Linked DNA regions of Homo sapiens: regions 1, 2, 3 and 5 are each linked to region 4. Evidence: promoter capture Hi-C in 16 types of primary human blood cells and fetal thymus (Javierre and others, 2016). All regions are on one chromosome and are shown on one strand. The core of a region is centred on a gene start or on the middle of the fragment in contact, and the rest is flanking DNA. Distances in the headings are between cores, read along the strand shown. Region 1 has its middle 130 kb from the start of ERBB4. Region 2 overlaps LINC01878 (long intergenic non-protein coding RNA 1878). Region 3 has its middle 51 kb from the start of LINC01878. Region 4 holds the start of IKZF2 (IKAROS family zinc finger 2). Region 5 has its middle 41 kb from the start of LINC01878.

Region 1 (2,700 bases), core at 111-2,610, 490 kb before region 4:
ATTACACCATACGAAAACTCTCTTGTCAATCCTAATGCAATTTAATGTGCTGCTGCTGGTGCTTAATTTAATTCAGTTTTTTTTCTCCACTGGTTTTTGTTCTGTACTATCTATATTTTTATGAACTTCTGCTATATGAAATAATTTATATCTGAATTATTGGCAAGTTCATAGTGAACATTTTCTGCATTTATACCTTTTTCCCTTGAATACTGAACAATAAATTAGCTACCTCAATTAGAACAACTATGTCAACATACACACACATGCACACACACACATACACACAAATATACACACACAAATACACACACATACACTCATGTTCTAGATTGGATCACTTAGTGGCATAACCCATTAGAAATTATGGAATGCTTTTTTCCCGATAGTTAACATTTCCAAATAATTCTAGGTAAAATTCAATGAAGGTAAAAATCATGCGACTAAATGCCACAAGTAAATTGCTAGGAAAAAGGGAATTACTTCTGAGTTTAAAAATATATATTTTCAACAACTGTTAAAAATAAAAGCTAACTTGTGAATTCAAATGTCAAAGCTCCAAGAATGATGCTGGCAGAGGGAACAGTAGCACTATTTTCATTACTGTCTATAGCTTTCCTAGCACTCAAAGAAGAAATAAAGTTTAGATACCTCCATTTTATGTAAGATTTAAAAATGTATTGCCCTTTTTCACATTAATTTATACCTACCAGTTAGAGTTAAAGCATGTCAGTAGTGCTTCAGAAAAATCACATTTCTTTTCATTAAATTTTCATCTTATTGTAAACAGAAATCACTCCAAAAACAAACAATCCAAACACCTTCTACATATTCATTCTTAGACCAGAATCCTTTTGAAACTGAGCTATAAGAAAACCTGAATAAACATTCTGAGAGAATTAAATTAGCCAGTCATACTTTCTAGTACAAAGTTTCTATTCTATAAGGCTGACATGCAGATGGTACTCTCTTCTGTTTTCTTAAAGGTTAGTGATCTAGGAATAATTCTTTTAGAGAAGTATACATAGTCAAATATTTGGGGGATACTCAGTACTCCTGTAATAAGCCTTGCTAACAAAAAAAACAGGAAACAGAAAGGAACATAAGTCCTACCATAGGGATTTAAATATTATTAACTTGATAGTGCTTTTCCATAAGTGTGCCTCCATATGAGTACTTGAGATAATATATAGGCATTGCCTGTCACCTAATAATCAATTATTAAATGACAGCTATTATTTATTATCCTTATCATTTGCTGAGTATATATAATGTGCTACTGCACTACAGTATGATGCAAATATTTTACCTTTGTCCTCCCAAACACCCCTGTAGAATGAATATTTTAATGCCCTTTTATACAAAACAAGAAACTGAGGATCAGAGAAACTGCCCAACAGTATATATAATGTGCTACTGCACTACAGTATGATGCAAATATTTTACCTTTGTCCTCCCAAACACCCCTGTAGAATGAATATTTTAATGCCCTTTTATACAAAACAAGAAACTGAGGATCAGAGAAACTGCCCAACGCCTCACAGCATAATAGTCCAAGGTTAGATTAAAAACACTAGAACCCAAACACAGAAGAGAGTTTAGTGCTTTCCTGATATGCTTCCGTGATAAACTAAATATTAAAATAATTCCAGGCTTGAAAATAATGGCTAGGCCCACCAGGATCTTATTTTACTCAATACTTTTCCCCCTGAAATATCTAATTCTTTTATTTGGAAGGTGAGATTAAGAGTCTGGACTCTGGATTCAGATGGCTTGAGTCCAAATTCCTGCTGAGCCACTTACTCACTCTGTGACTTGGACAGTAATTAGCCTCTTTGTGCCTTTTTCTCCTGAGGATAATAGTATATCTGTCATAGGACTGCTGTGAAAGTTAACCAAGTTCTTCTGTATGTCCAGTGCTTAGACTAGTACCAGGCACATAGTAAGTCTTGAATAAACATTTGTTATTACTATGAATATTTACATTTTATCTTATGTTTGGGAGCCCCTGCTTTTCCCATGTCTCTAACCAAGGTGCTTGGCCTGCCTATAATCCACCTGGAGTACCACCTCCACATGTAGCCATCTGGCCTCAGGTGATGATCTAGTGGCTGAAGACTTTGAGACACAGACACCCTGGGCCTGTGGAGGAATCATGATCACCATATTTCAGTGGACTAAAAGGGAGAGTAGGAAATGAAACAAGATGGGAGTAGGTTGAGGTCAACACTATCTCAGGATGAAGAGAATCAATAGGTAAGAACATGATAAAGACTTTGAAGACTTATCCTTGAAATGGGGTTGAGAGTCTCACATAACTTTTCATAGTCATTCTGAAATTCAGTTCCTTAGATTCCAAACCCTCAACAGGATTCTAGTTGCTCAAGCTCTGGAACAAATTCTTATAAAAGAATGAAATATCACTGGTGGTGAGGGAAAAGGTCAAAGTAAGCAAGAAGGTTAGAATGAAAGATGCTGGCTTGTTCCATTCATCTGTTTAATCCATCTGGCAGAATTATGAACCTCTATCCTCCATGGCATTTGGATATAAATCAGAAATAGATTAGATTAGAGTGGGAGAAAAGAATGGAAAGAGTAAGAGGCTTCCTTTAGCTTCTCCAAGGTTGAACTGGCAAACAATCTTCGGCATTCAAGTTCATTTTCGAATCAGGTCAATAGACCAGTGAGGGTAGGAGGTGA
Region 2 (2,700 bases), core at 85-2,584, 330 kb before region 4:
GTTGTATATTGTATTAATACCTTTTGTGCACCTTTTCAGGTTTTCTTAGTTGTATCTGTCCTGTTCCAGACACCAACTTGACCACCTGATCTGTGAGGGCTTAGGTGCAGCATGACAGCACTTCACCCCAAGAATCTACCTCTCATTTCCCACTTGGGGCTATTCTGTTGACACCTCAGCTTGGGACCAGGAATAAAATCCACTCTCCATTTACACATGTACCACCCAGAGTGTGGGAAAGTTAACACCCTCTATCAGTTTGTTAAGGCTGCCGTAACAAAAGACCACAGGCTGGGTGGCTTCACTATCAGAAATGTATTTTCTCACAGTTTTGGAGGCGAGAAGTCCAAGATTAAGGTGTCAGCAGGTTTGGTTTCTTCTGAGGCTTCTCTCCTTAGTTTGCAGATGGCCACCTGGTCTTTCCCTCTTGCATACAAACCCCATGGTGTCCCTCTGTGTGTCCACATTTCCTCTTTTTATATAGGGACACCAGTCATATTAGATTAGGGCTTACCCTAAGGGCCTCATGTTAACTTAATCACCACTTTAAAGACCTTATATCCAACATAGTTACCCTATAGAGTTACATTCTGAGGTATTGAAAGTTAAGACTTCAACATATAAATCAAGGACGGGGACAGAAACAATTCAGCCCATAACACACTGCATGGGTGATCAATGCGGGAAGGAAATAAGAGTTAATAAATTATCTTTTTATTCCCCTAGATGGATGATCCTGATTGACATTTCATGTGACAGTTCTCAATCTCTTCGTGATTGGGAAAGTGGCACTTATAACCACCATCTACTGGCAAGTCATTGGCTCTCTCTCCTTCTTGGCCTGGTTTCCCTGTCCCTCATTCCTACCTTTTTCCAGGATCACAAAAGCCGATAACAAGCTTGCACTCAGGTTCTGCTTCCTGGAGAGCCCAGGCTGATATCTCACTTCATATTTACAACAACTATGCAAGATATGTCTTCTTGTTGTTGTCTCATAAATAAAGAAACGGGAGAGTCTAACAAGATAACTGACTTGTACAGAGTCACACAGCTAGTAAGTTACAAAGGCAGAACTCTGATTTAAGTCTTCTGCCTCTCATCTTGCATTATTTCCCAGGTACCACAATATCTCCTAGCAATTTTTATTTTCTTAATTTTAATTTTTTTGAAACAGTGTCTTTCTCTGTCACCCAGGTTGGAGTGCAGTGATGCAATCATGGCTCACTTCAGCCTCTACCTCCTGGGATCAAGCAATCCTCCCACCTCAGCCTCTGGAGTCACCGGGACTACAGGCACGTGTAACCATGCCCAGCTAACTTTTAAATTTTTTGTAGAGACAAGGGCTCACTATGTTGCTCAGGCTAATCTCAAACTCTTGAGCTCAAGTGATCCTCCTGCCTTGGCCTTCCAAAGTGCTAGGTTTACAAGCAAGAGCCACTGCGCCTGACTTGTCCTAGCAATTTTTATGTATCATTGTGTGTAATTTAGGCCATTTTCCCAACCCAATTTTAAAACTGTTTAAATGGATTAGAGATAAGACATCCCAAGTACATAATTCATTTCCCTATTACTTAAATGCTCTCCTTTCCCTTCTTCCCTAAACCTATGAGTTTGGTAATCCTTTTACATGGCTTACTTATATCTGAAATTACTTTTATTCAATAGAAAGTATATAAATTAAAATCTCTTTATTGGTATTATCACGATCTATACCTTTCCAAGGAAACCACTTCTCACAGTCAAATTAGGGAGGCTCTTGTATCTTAATCAAAGCTTAACAGTTTAATCGTTCATTAAACATGAGAGTAATTTAGTGTCCTACTATGCAATCATTATTGTTTCCTGAAAATCTGGTATGATGAGGTACAATAAATGCAAACTGAAATATTGCCTGTGGAAAGTTATTTATTATTTCTTCTAGCTAAAAACATTCATAACTGAAATTTATTGGCTCATACTCCCTTCATTATAAATATTTTATGTTCTGCCTCAGGGATCCATGTCTTAGCATTTAAATGTCTCAATCTTGTGTCAGTAACAGGAAGAACAAGTTCACTGGGTGGAATTTTTGCCCTTTGCTTCAGAATGTTACAATAATAATAGGCTATAAATATGTTATAATTATATCTTTGATCATTGCCGTGGTTTTCTAGCCTGAATGAATTAAACTCAAAACTAAAGCTGAGCTGATAGGCAAAAATGACAGCCGTTATCTTATACTAAAATTTTTCTGAAAACCATATTAATATAGTAAAAATATTTAGAGTGGCCAGGATAGTACATCATTTTTCCTATTACTGTACTTTTACTTTAATGTGAAATAGTACCTATACCTATTACCACCCTTACATCTCAATAATGGTTTACATTCATTTAAAGTTTTACTTTTTTAGTTCTTTCATGTTCTAGTCACAATAACAAACTTTGAGGTACTAAGGACTGTTGCTATAATAGTCATCGGTCAAATGAAAAATGTGAGGTTCAGGTAGTTAAAGATGTCTAACTTTTTTAATGTTAATATTTTTAGTTATGAGATACAGTAACATAGTGCAATGGTTTGAATTAGGCTTCTGTTTTCTGCCGACCTCACCTGATGGGGTCAGCTTGGGGTAGGAGGTGCAGTGGAGAAGGAAATGGCAGAGAGGAGAGGACATGAGCAGGTGACAAAACAGCAGACGACAGGTAATGCTATCTGGAGAG
Region 3 (2,700 bases), core at 134-2,633, 410 kb before region 4:
CAAGGTAAGACACCTATAATATACTGCCAACAAATTATTAAACAATGTATTAATGAAAACAAATACTGGCTGTGGTTGAGGGTTGTTTTTCTGTACAATGATTATAAACACCATTGTTGTAGTAATTTCACCTCTAGAAATACATGTTACGGAAATCAAGAAGTAGTCAAAGATTTATGAAAAAAATGTTTATTATGGCATTATCTAAAGTAACTGACACATGAAAAAAATCATTGACATTAGAAAATTGTTAGCAAGTAAATCGTGGCAAATAGTTCTACTTTATTCCTTCTGTGTATTTTTCAAGCTTTTTTAAATGAATACCTATTACTTGTATCATCCTAAATAAAAGCTTTAGAAACGCTTTTTAAATGCCTGAAATTAAAGCTGAAATTAAACAGATTCACAATGATACATTTGCCTTGCCAGAAGCTATATTGTATTGAATGTATGCTGAGACATTGTAATTTCCAAAGAGGGCCACTGCAATATAACTCATCTGACAGACTCTTCTTACAATGTGACAGCTAATGGTGAGGTCTAAGTCTCCTCCCTTTGAATTTCAGCTGACATTTGTGAGCACATCCCCCAAAAGAGTATGTTGAAACGATTTCCATGATCAGATCATAAAAATGCCATGCATTTCCATCTTGGTTTTTTGTTTGTTTATTTGTTTTTTGTTTGGTTGGTTGGTTGGTATTTTTGAAACATTATTTCTATGAACACTGCCACCACAGTGTGAAGAGGTCCAATCTTACCCATGTTGGGGTTACCTCATCTTGTTCTGACCAACACTACCAGCTAAAGTCCTCCAAATAGTCAACATCAACCCCCAGAAATGTGAGTAAAGAAGTCTAAAAATTAATCCATTCCCCAGCTATCTAATCTTCTCTGAATTTTTTCATTTGAAGCCCCAAACAAGCCATGCTTATAGGTACAGTTTGATTGTCTCCTACATAATTCATGTTGAAATTTAATTACAATTGTAACAGTACTGAAAGGTAGGGTCTTTAAGAGGTGATTAGGTCATGAGGCCTCTGCCCTCATGAATGGATTAATGCCATTACCTCTAGAGTGGCTTAGTTGTCCTGGGAGTGGGCTCTTGATAAAAGGATGGGTTTGGCCTGATTTCCTCTTTCTGTCTACAATGCTCACTTGCCCTCCTGCCATGTTATGACATAGCAAGAAGGCCCTTACCAGCTATGGGCCCTTGATCTTAGGCTTCCCAGCCTTCAGAATCATGAGCCAAATACACTTCTTTTAAAAAAAAAATTTATCCAGTTTGTCATATTCTATTATGGCAGCACAGGACCAATTAAGACACTCGCTGTACCCTTTCTCAATTTCTGAAACACATAATCTGTGATCATAAAATGATTATTGTTTATACCACTAAGATGAGGTGGTTTGTTTTACATCAATAAATATTTGGAACACATGCCTCTCCAAGAGAGAAATAGTCACTTTCCACCAGAAGAGAAGAAATAAAAAATCAATAAGACAATCAACTGTCCCACTAACAAAGAGAGCAAATAAAAACTTTGCAAAAATAATTGAGTTAATAAAAATAAAACTGTGTTAAAAGAGAATTGAATCATCTTGCCTTAAATGCTTAGAACCAAAACTGAATTTTTAGAAAATATTGAATATGTAGCAAATTCCTTACTGCAAAAGGGAAATCACCCAATTTCACTCTAATGGTTGAAAACCTTGATGTCAGCCTCAGTTATCCAAAGCAAAGACTAACAAAATAGGAGAAAGTGGAAAAGATACATTTTTACTTTGAGAATATGTATAGCAGTACAAAAGAAATTGCTACAATGGAATAAAACAAAAATTTCTGAGGCTGGAAACCAATTTTAAAAAGGAAAACAAAACACTTTTGAATATAACTTTAAGCTACATTTCTGATGTCACCAGAGTCACAAGGTGGATAAAATGCAACTATTTTTAGTACTACTGTAGTAAGGAATTGTTTTAACTAATAACTTAGCATCCATCAGATTAATACAGAACAATCATATCCTTTGCTATGCATGTGTGCCATTTTATACTGTCTGATATGATCTGAGTGTAATTTACTTGTTCCTTTGGGTTTGTGGTTGTTGTCACATCTAGACACATAAACATCATAGGCAGTAGATGAGACTAATTAAATAATTATTTTCTGCATAGAGTTATAAGCTAAAAAGGTAATTAAATCATTCATTCACACAGTAGGGTAAGTATTTACTAAAGAGTAAATATGGGGTGCTAAGACACATCTAACAAAGCCTTAGGTTAGGAGTAGGAGGGAAAGGTTAAAGTTAGGTTCCCAAAAAAGGTGATGTCTCAACTGGCTCCTGAACAGCAAATAAAACTGCATCAGATAGAGACAAGTGGTAAGATGTTCTAGGCAGAGTTGCAACCTACACAAAAGCTTAGAGGAGAAGAAGAGTATGACATATTTAGGGAGCTCCAAGTAATTCAGTTTGAATAGAGCTGAGGCTATTAGGTGGAGAGTGGCAGTAGATGAGAGTAAAGAGACTAAATAGGGAAGTAGGGACAGAATGTGATGTACCCCACACATGATTTTCTATTCAGGTTTCATGCTATGACTTTGAAGTGTTTTGCATAAGAGAGTGTTATGATGAGACTTCTTTCTGTAAAGATCTCTCTCAATGGAAGCAAAAGGATAAAAAGGAGCAAAATAATCAATTA
Region 4 (2,700 bases), core at 201-2,700:
ATTAAAAAAGATTCATCACCATTTCCAGCTCTGTCGGGAGATCTCAGCTTCTTCTAACCCCTCAAAGAGGAGGTGACAATGTCGGGCTGAAGATAAACGGAGGGAGAAAGAAAGAAGTTTTTTGTGTTTCCCCCTTCTCTCTTTCCCTCCCTTGCCCCCTCCAAGCCAAGCCCCCTGCAGAGTTCAAGGGGAGGAGGAAGGAAAAGCACTTTACAGGTGGGTCATTCCAAGCCCAAATCCAGCAAACAGATCGGCTGATAAACAAAACCAAGAAATGAGAGAGAAGAACACCCCCCTCCTCCTCCTCCTCCTCCTCGTCCTCCTCCTCCTCCTCCTTCCACCCCTCCCCCTCGTCCCTTAGGGATGGTCTAGTAGGAAAAGTCACTCAGGAATGGCACCACGTACTTTCAGGAAAGAGGAAAAAAAAGAGAGAGAGAGAGGTCAGTCAGTGCTATAGCAATGCGATTAACAAGAGAAAAAACTTGATCCACCGGTTCCTTAAGAATCGACCAAAAGCTAAGACAAGAAAACTGAAAGAAAAGGGGGGGGGGGCGGGTAGAGGGGAGGGACAGTCAGGCAGAACCCAGCTAGGAACCCAGGCCAACTTCACAGGACTGTTTTTGGCCCTTGGCAAAAAAGAAAAAAAATAAATAAATCTTAATTCCATCTCTTTCGCCCATACTAGAACCTGTCAAAGTGATTTAACTGCTGCCTGTTTACATGTGTCATACCAGGGTTTTTGGTTTTTTTTTTTTTTTAATTCCAACAGGATCTGGATATTACCTTCTATCTGGACAGCTTCAATTTATTCCAGCCTACCCAATCTTTCTTCTTGGAATTCAAGTTAAAACAAAGCAAAACAAGTCCAAATTCATGACAGCTATAGAGATGAGAACTGATTAATCGATTAACATCCCAGAAACAGATTACAAGGAGGGGACGATAAATTAAGGCAGAGGACATCATCTTCAACCCGATTCCCTGAGCGTCCTTTACAAAAATCATTACCCTAATCAGAACCACAATCCATCCCTCCCAGAGAAAAATACCTATATTATTATTATTATTACTGGTTAACAGCAACAAGTCATTTGATCACATCACAGTGCAAAACGAGATGCTATATAATTACACTTAACTTTGAAAACACTCCCCCCTTTGCAAATCATACACATATTTATATATAATCTATGAATCAGAAGACAAAACAAGAGCTGTTCTTCACCACGCAAAAGCCAAGCGGAGATTTACCTCAGCAGTGCATGCAGTAAAATAATCCCATCACCCTTTTGTTTGTGTTTACTGTTAATGTGTCCTCTGTCTTTCTTTCTTTCCTGTGCCTAACGTGTGTTTGTGCACTGCAGTTGGTGGTGGAAACTAAGGCAGTGGATCTGTAGCTAAGGGTAATCCTGTTTTTACTTCCTCCATCTTCAGCGAGGAGCAGGGTTAGCCCGGGACAGCTGGTCAAACCCCGAGAAACCGATCCGGTGGAGCCCGAGCACATCTCCCCCGCCGGCCGGGCTCGCGCAGACGCCCGCGGGCGGAGGGCGGGCTGGCGGCGGCTGCGGCGGCGGCGGCGGCGGGCGGCTGGCGGCGGGCAGCGGAGCCCCGGGCGCGGGCGAGCGGACGTGCGTGCGCGCGCGTGCGTGTGTGCGGGGCCCGAGCGCCTGTGCGTGTGTGTATGAGAGCGCGTGTGCGCGCGCGCGCGGGCTGGCGGGCGCGTGTGCGCGTGTCTGCGCGCTAAGCCGCTCGGCGCGCTCGGCAATCGATTACAGGACAAGTGCTGCCCCGGAGGCTCCGCGACGCGCGCACTCCCTCGCGCCCACCCGCGCGCCCGGCCGCGTCGCCCCCAGCCCGTTGGTCCCCGGACTGCGGACCCCGCCCCCGACGGGGGCCAGGTAACCCGCTTCCGAGTGTGCCACGGCGACCCCCATCTCCCCTCCCCGTGTCATAATAAATCTCACGTTTTCTGCCGGCTGGAGGCTTGGAGCGGTGAGGTGACGTTCATTTCGGCCGCGTGAAGTTTTCTTTCAAACTGGGATTGGTGGGGAGGCCGGGGGAAGGGAGCGGGGCGGCGATCTTGGCGCCCTGCGCGGAGTCCGGGAGCCGCGTCCCGGCCGAGTCGGGGAGTGTGCGTGGAGCCTCCCACCTACTGGTCTCCGCCGGCAACTCTGCGGCCCCATTTCGGAAAGCGCACCGCATTGACCGGGACCTGAAGCGGGATAAGAGGGGTCCTGGGGAATAGACTGAGAAAGACATTCATGTCTGAGATGAAGCTCAACTATTACTATTTTGAAAGTGCTTTAACAGTGCAAGTTTAAAAACTAAAGTGTTGACTTGCTTTTTCTCCCCCGGGGCATGTGCCACGTCTTCCAAAGTCAAAGGAACGGATGAGTACAAAAAGTTGCTACCCTTGAAGTGTTACCTATCACTATCAACCACAGCTTGTTTATTTGGAAAGAACTTAAGTGAACCGTCAAGAGAAAAACAAATGCATATTCTTTCTACAAATAGTAGCATTTAGTATCTTTCCTGACCACATTTGCGAAAAGAGGGAATAGAGACTTCTATAATTAAAGGGAAAAGGAAAATGAAAGGAGCTGAAAATAGTGAACTGTGTAGTCTGGATGGCTGAAATTTGAAAACACATGAAATTATCAGGACTGCCAAACGGTGTTCCTGAGAAACCATATCACAGAT
Region 5 (2,700 bases), core at 145-2,644, 320 kb before region 4:
GATCATGTGGTAAGAGTATGTTTAGTTTTGTAAGAAGCTGCCAGCCTGTCTTTCAATGTGGCTATACCATATTGCATTCCCATCCACATCCTTGGAATCATTTGCTGTTATCAGTGTTTTGGAGTTTTTCTGAAAAGTATAAGGTAGTGTCTAGATTTATGTATTTATTTTTGCATGCAGATTATTTTTGCATGCAGATGTCCAGTTGCTTCAGCACTGTTTGTTGAAAAGACTGTCTTTTCTCCATTATGTTGCCTTTGCTCCTTTGTCAAAGATCAGTTGACTATATTTGTGGCTATCTATTTCTGTGTTCACTATTCCGTTCTATTGACCTGTCTGTTCTTTTGCCAATACTGCACTATCTTGATTACTGGAAGTTTATAGTAAGGCATGAAGTCAAGTAGTGTCAGTACTCTGACTTAGTTTTCCTTCAATATTGTGTTGGCTACTCTGGGTCTTTTGCCTCCCCATGTAAATGTTAGTATCAATCTGTCAATGTTCACAGAGAGTTTGCTGCAAGTTCCCTTGAGATTACATTGAATCTATAGATGAAGTTAGGAAGAACTAACATATTGACAATATTGTCTTTGAGATCTCTCAAGATTTCTTCTTTGATCCAAGTGTTATTTACAAGTGTGTTGTTTAATCTCCCAGTACTTGGGGATCTTCAAACTACCTTTCTGTTACTGGTATCTAGTTTAATTTTACTGAGGGATTTGAGAGCAGACATTGTATGATTTTTATTTTTAAATTTGTTGAGGTGTGTTTTATGGCCAAGAATGTGGTCTGTCTTGGTGAATGTTCCATGTGAGCTTGAGAAGAATGTGTCGTCTGCTGTTGTTGGATGAAGTATTTTATAGATGCCATTTATATCCAGTTGATTGATAGTGCTGTTGAGTTCAACTATGTCTTTACTGATTTTCTGGCTGCTGAATCTGTCCATTACTGATAAGTGTTGAAGTTTCCAACTATAATAGTGTATTCCTCTATTTCTCCTTGGAGTTTTATAAGTTTGTGCCTCGTGTATTTTAATGCTCTGTTGTTCGGTGCATACGCTTTAAGGATTGTTCTGTCTTCTTGAAGAATTGACTCCTTTTATCATTATGTAAAGTCCGTCTTTATCTGTGATAACATTCCTTGCTTTGAAGTCTGCTGTATCTAAAATTAATGTAGCTACTGAGTTTTCTTTTGATTCGAGTTATTATATCTTTCTCCATCCCTTTATGTTTAATCTTGATATGTCTTTATATTTAAAGTGCGTTTCTTGTAGACAATATATAGTTGGGTCTTTTGATCCACTCTGACAATCTCTTTTTGTGTTAATGACAATTGATGTTTAATTATTGATATTGTTGGATTAATATCTTCCATATTACTGCATTCTATTCATTGTTTTTTATTCTTCCACTCTTCTGTGGTTTAACTGAGCATTTTGTGTGGTTCCATTTTTTTTCTCCTTAGCATATCACCTATAGTATACTTATTTATTTACTTACTTTTTTTTAGTGGTTGCTCTGGCATTTTCAATATACATTTGCATCTAATCCAAATCTACTTTTGAATAACACTATACTGCCTCATGGATAGTGCAAGGTTATCCATAAGTTACAATCACTAAATACATTATTGCCATTATTTTTATTTATTTATTTATTTATTTGAGACGGAGTCTCACTCTGTAGCCCAGGCTGGAGTGCAGTGGTGCGATCTCAGCTCACTGCAACCTCTGCCTCCTGGGTTCACGCCATTCTTCTGCCTCAGCCTCCTGAGTAGCTGGGATTACAGGCGCCCGCCACCACGCCCCACTAATTTTTTGTATTTTTAGTAGATCTGGGGTTTCACTGTGTTAGCCAGGATGGTCTCAATCTCCTGACCTCGTGATCCGCCCACCTTGGCCTCCCAAAGTGCTGGGATTACAGGCGTGAGCCACTGTGCCCAGCCTGCTATTATTATTTTTAACAAACTGTTGTATATTCAACCAATTAAGTAGAGAAAAATAAGTTCTTTTTTGTTTACCTTCACTTATTCCTTCTCTGATGCTCTTCTTTATGTGAAGCAAAATTTCTGACCTATATTATTATCCTCTCTGAAAAACTTCTTTTAACATTTTTTGCAAGGCAGGTTTACTGGCAACAAATTTTCTCCTATTTTTGTTTGTTTGGGAAGGTCTTAATAGGCATACCTCAGAGATACTGTGGGTTTGGTTCCAGACCACCACAATAAAGCGAATGTCTCAAAGCAAGTCATGGATTTTTTGGTTTCTCAGTGCATACAAAAGTTAGATTTACACGCTACTATAGTCCAGTAAGTGTGCAACAGAAGTAAGTCTAAAGAACCCAATGGACATAAGTTAATTTAAAAATTTTTATTGCCAAAAAATGCTAGCTATCATCCGAGCCTTTAGCAAGTTGTAATCTTTTTGTTGGTGGAAGGTCTTGCCTCCATATTGATGGCTACTGACTGATCAGGGTAGTAGTTGCTGAAGGTTGAGGTGGCTGTGTCAGTTTCTTAAAATATAACGTTGAAGTTGCTGTATCAATTGACTCTTTGTTTCACAAAATATTTATCTGTAGCATGCAGTGCTGTTTGACAGCATTTTACTCACAGTAGAACTTCTTTCAAAATTGAATCAATACTCTCAGACCCTGCATACTGCTTTATAAACTAAGTTTATGTAAAATTTTAGATCTTTTATTGTCA

Evidence for each region. The method cuts DNA at HindIII sites, captures the fragments that hold promoters and counts their contacts. A CHiCAGO score of 5 or more calls a contact.
Region 1: a fragment that was not itself captured here is called in contact with the fragment with the promoter of IKZF2 in region 4 in 1 of 17 cell types (erythroblasts); the score reaches 5.1 in erythroblasts.
Region 2: a fragment that was not itself captured here is called in contact with the fragment with the promoter of IKZF2 in region 4 in 7 of 17 cell types (total B cells, M0 macrophages, erythroblasts and 4 more); the score reaches 10.4 in total B cells.
Region 3: a fragment that was not itself captured here is called in contact with the fragment with the promoter of IKZF2 in region 4 in 2 of 17 cell types (erythroblasts and naive B cells); the score reaches 6.2 in erythroblasts.
Region 5: a contact is called between a fragment that was not itself captured here and the fragment with the promoter of IKZF2 in region 4, in 2 of 17 cell types (total B cells and M0 macrophages). The highest score is 5.6, in total B cells.

The regions. Positions count from the first base shown.
Region 1 is chr2:212,664,346-212,667,045 of GRCh38, forward strand. No RefSeq gene overlaps it. Among named protein-coding and RNA genes, the nearest start is that of ERBB4, 130 kb to the left of the region's middle. The HindIII fragment of the contact is 4,092 bases long and covers 1-2,700 here.
Region 2 is chr2:212,816,197-212,818,896 of GRCh38, forward strand. It overlaps LINC01878 (long intergenic non-protein coding RNA 1878), which reads left to right. Exons shown (of 5, transcript NR_131941.1): 3 at 727-811; 4 at 1,195-1,292. Among named protein-coding and RNA genes, the nearest start is that of LINC01878, 22 kb to the left of the region's middle. The HindIII fragment of the contact is 874 bases long and covers 898-1,771 here.
Region 3 is chr2:212,743,016-212,745,715 of GRCh38, forward strand. No RefSeq gene overlaps it. Among named protein-coding and RNA genes, the nearest start is that of LINC01878, 51 kb to the right of the region's middle. The HindIII fragment of the contact is 2,067 bases long and covers 351-2,417 here.
Region 4 is chr2:213,150,162-213,152,861 of GRCh38, forward strand. IKZF2 (IKAROS family zinc finger 2) reads right to left here and starts at 1,451. Exons shown (of 9, transcript NM_001387220.1): 1 at 1,252-1,451; 2 at 1-86. RefSeq lists silencers at 1,542-1,601, 1,682-2,041. The HindIII fragment of the contact is 7,158 bases long and covers 1-2,700 here.
Region 5 is chr2:212,835,191-212,837,890 of GRCh38, forward strand. No RefSeq gene overlaps it. Among named protein-coding and RNA genes, the nearest start is that of LINC01878, 41 kb to the left of the region's middle. The HindIII fragment of the contact is 5,538 bases long and covers 1-2,700 here.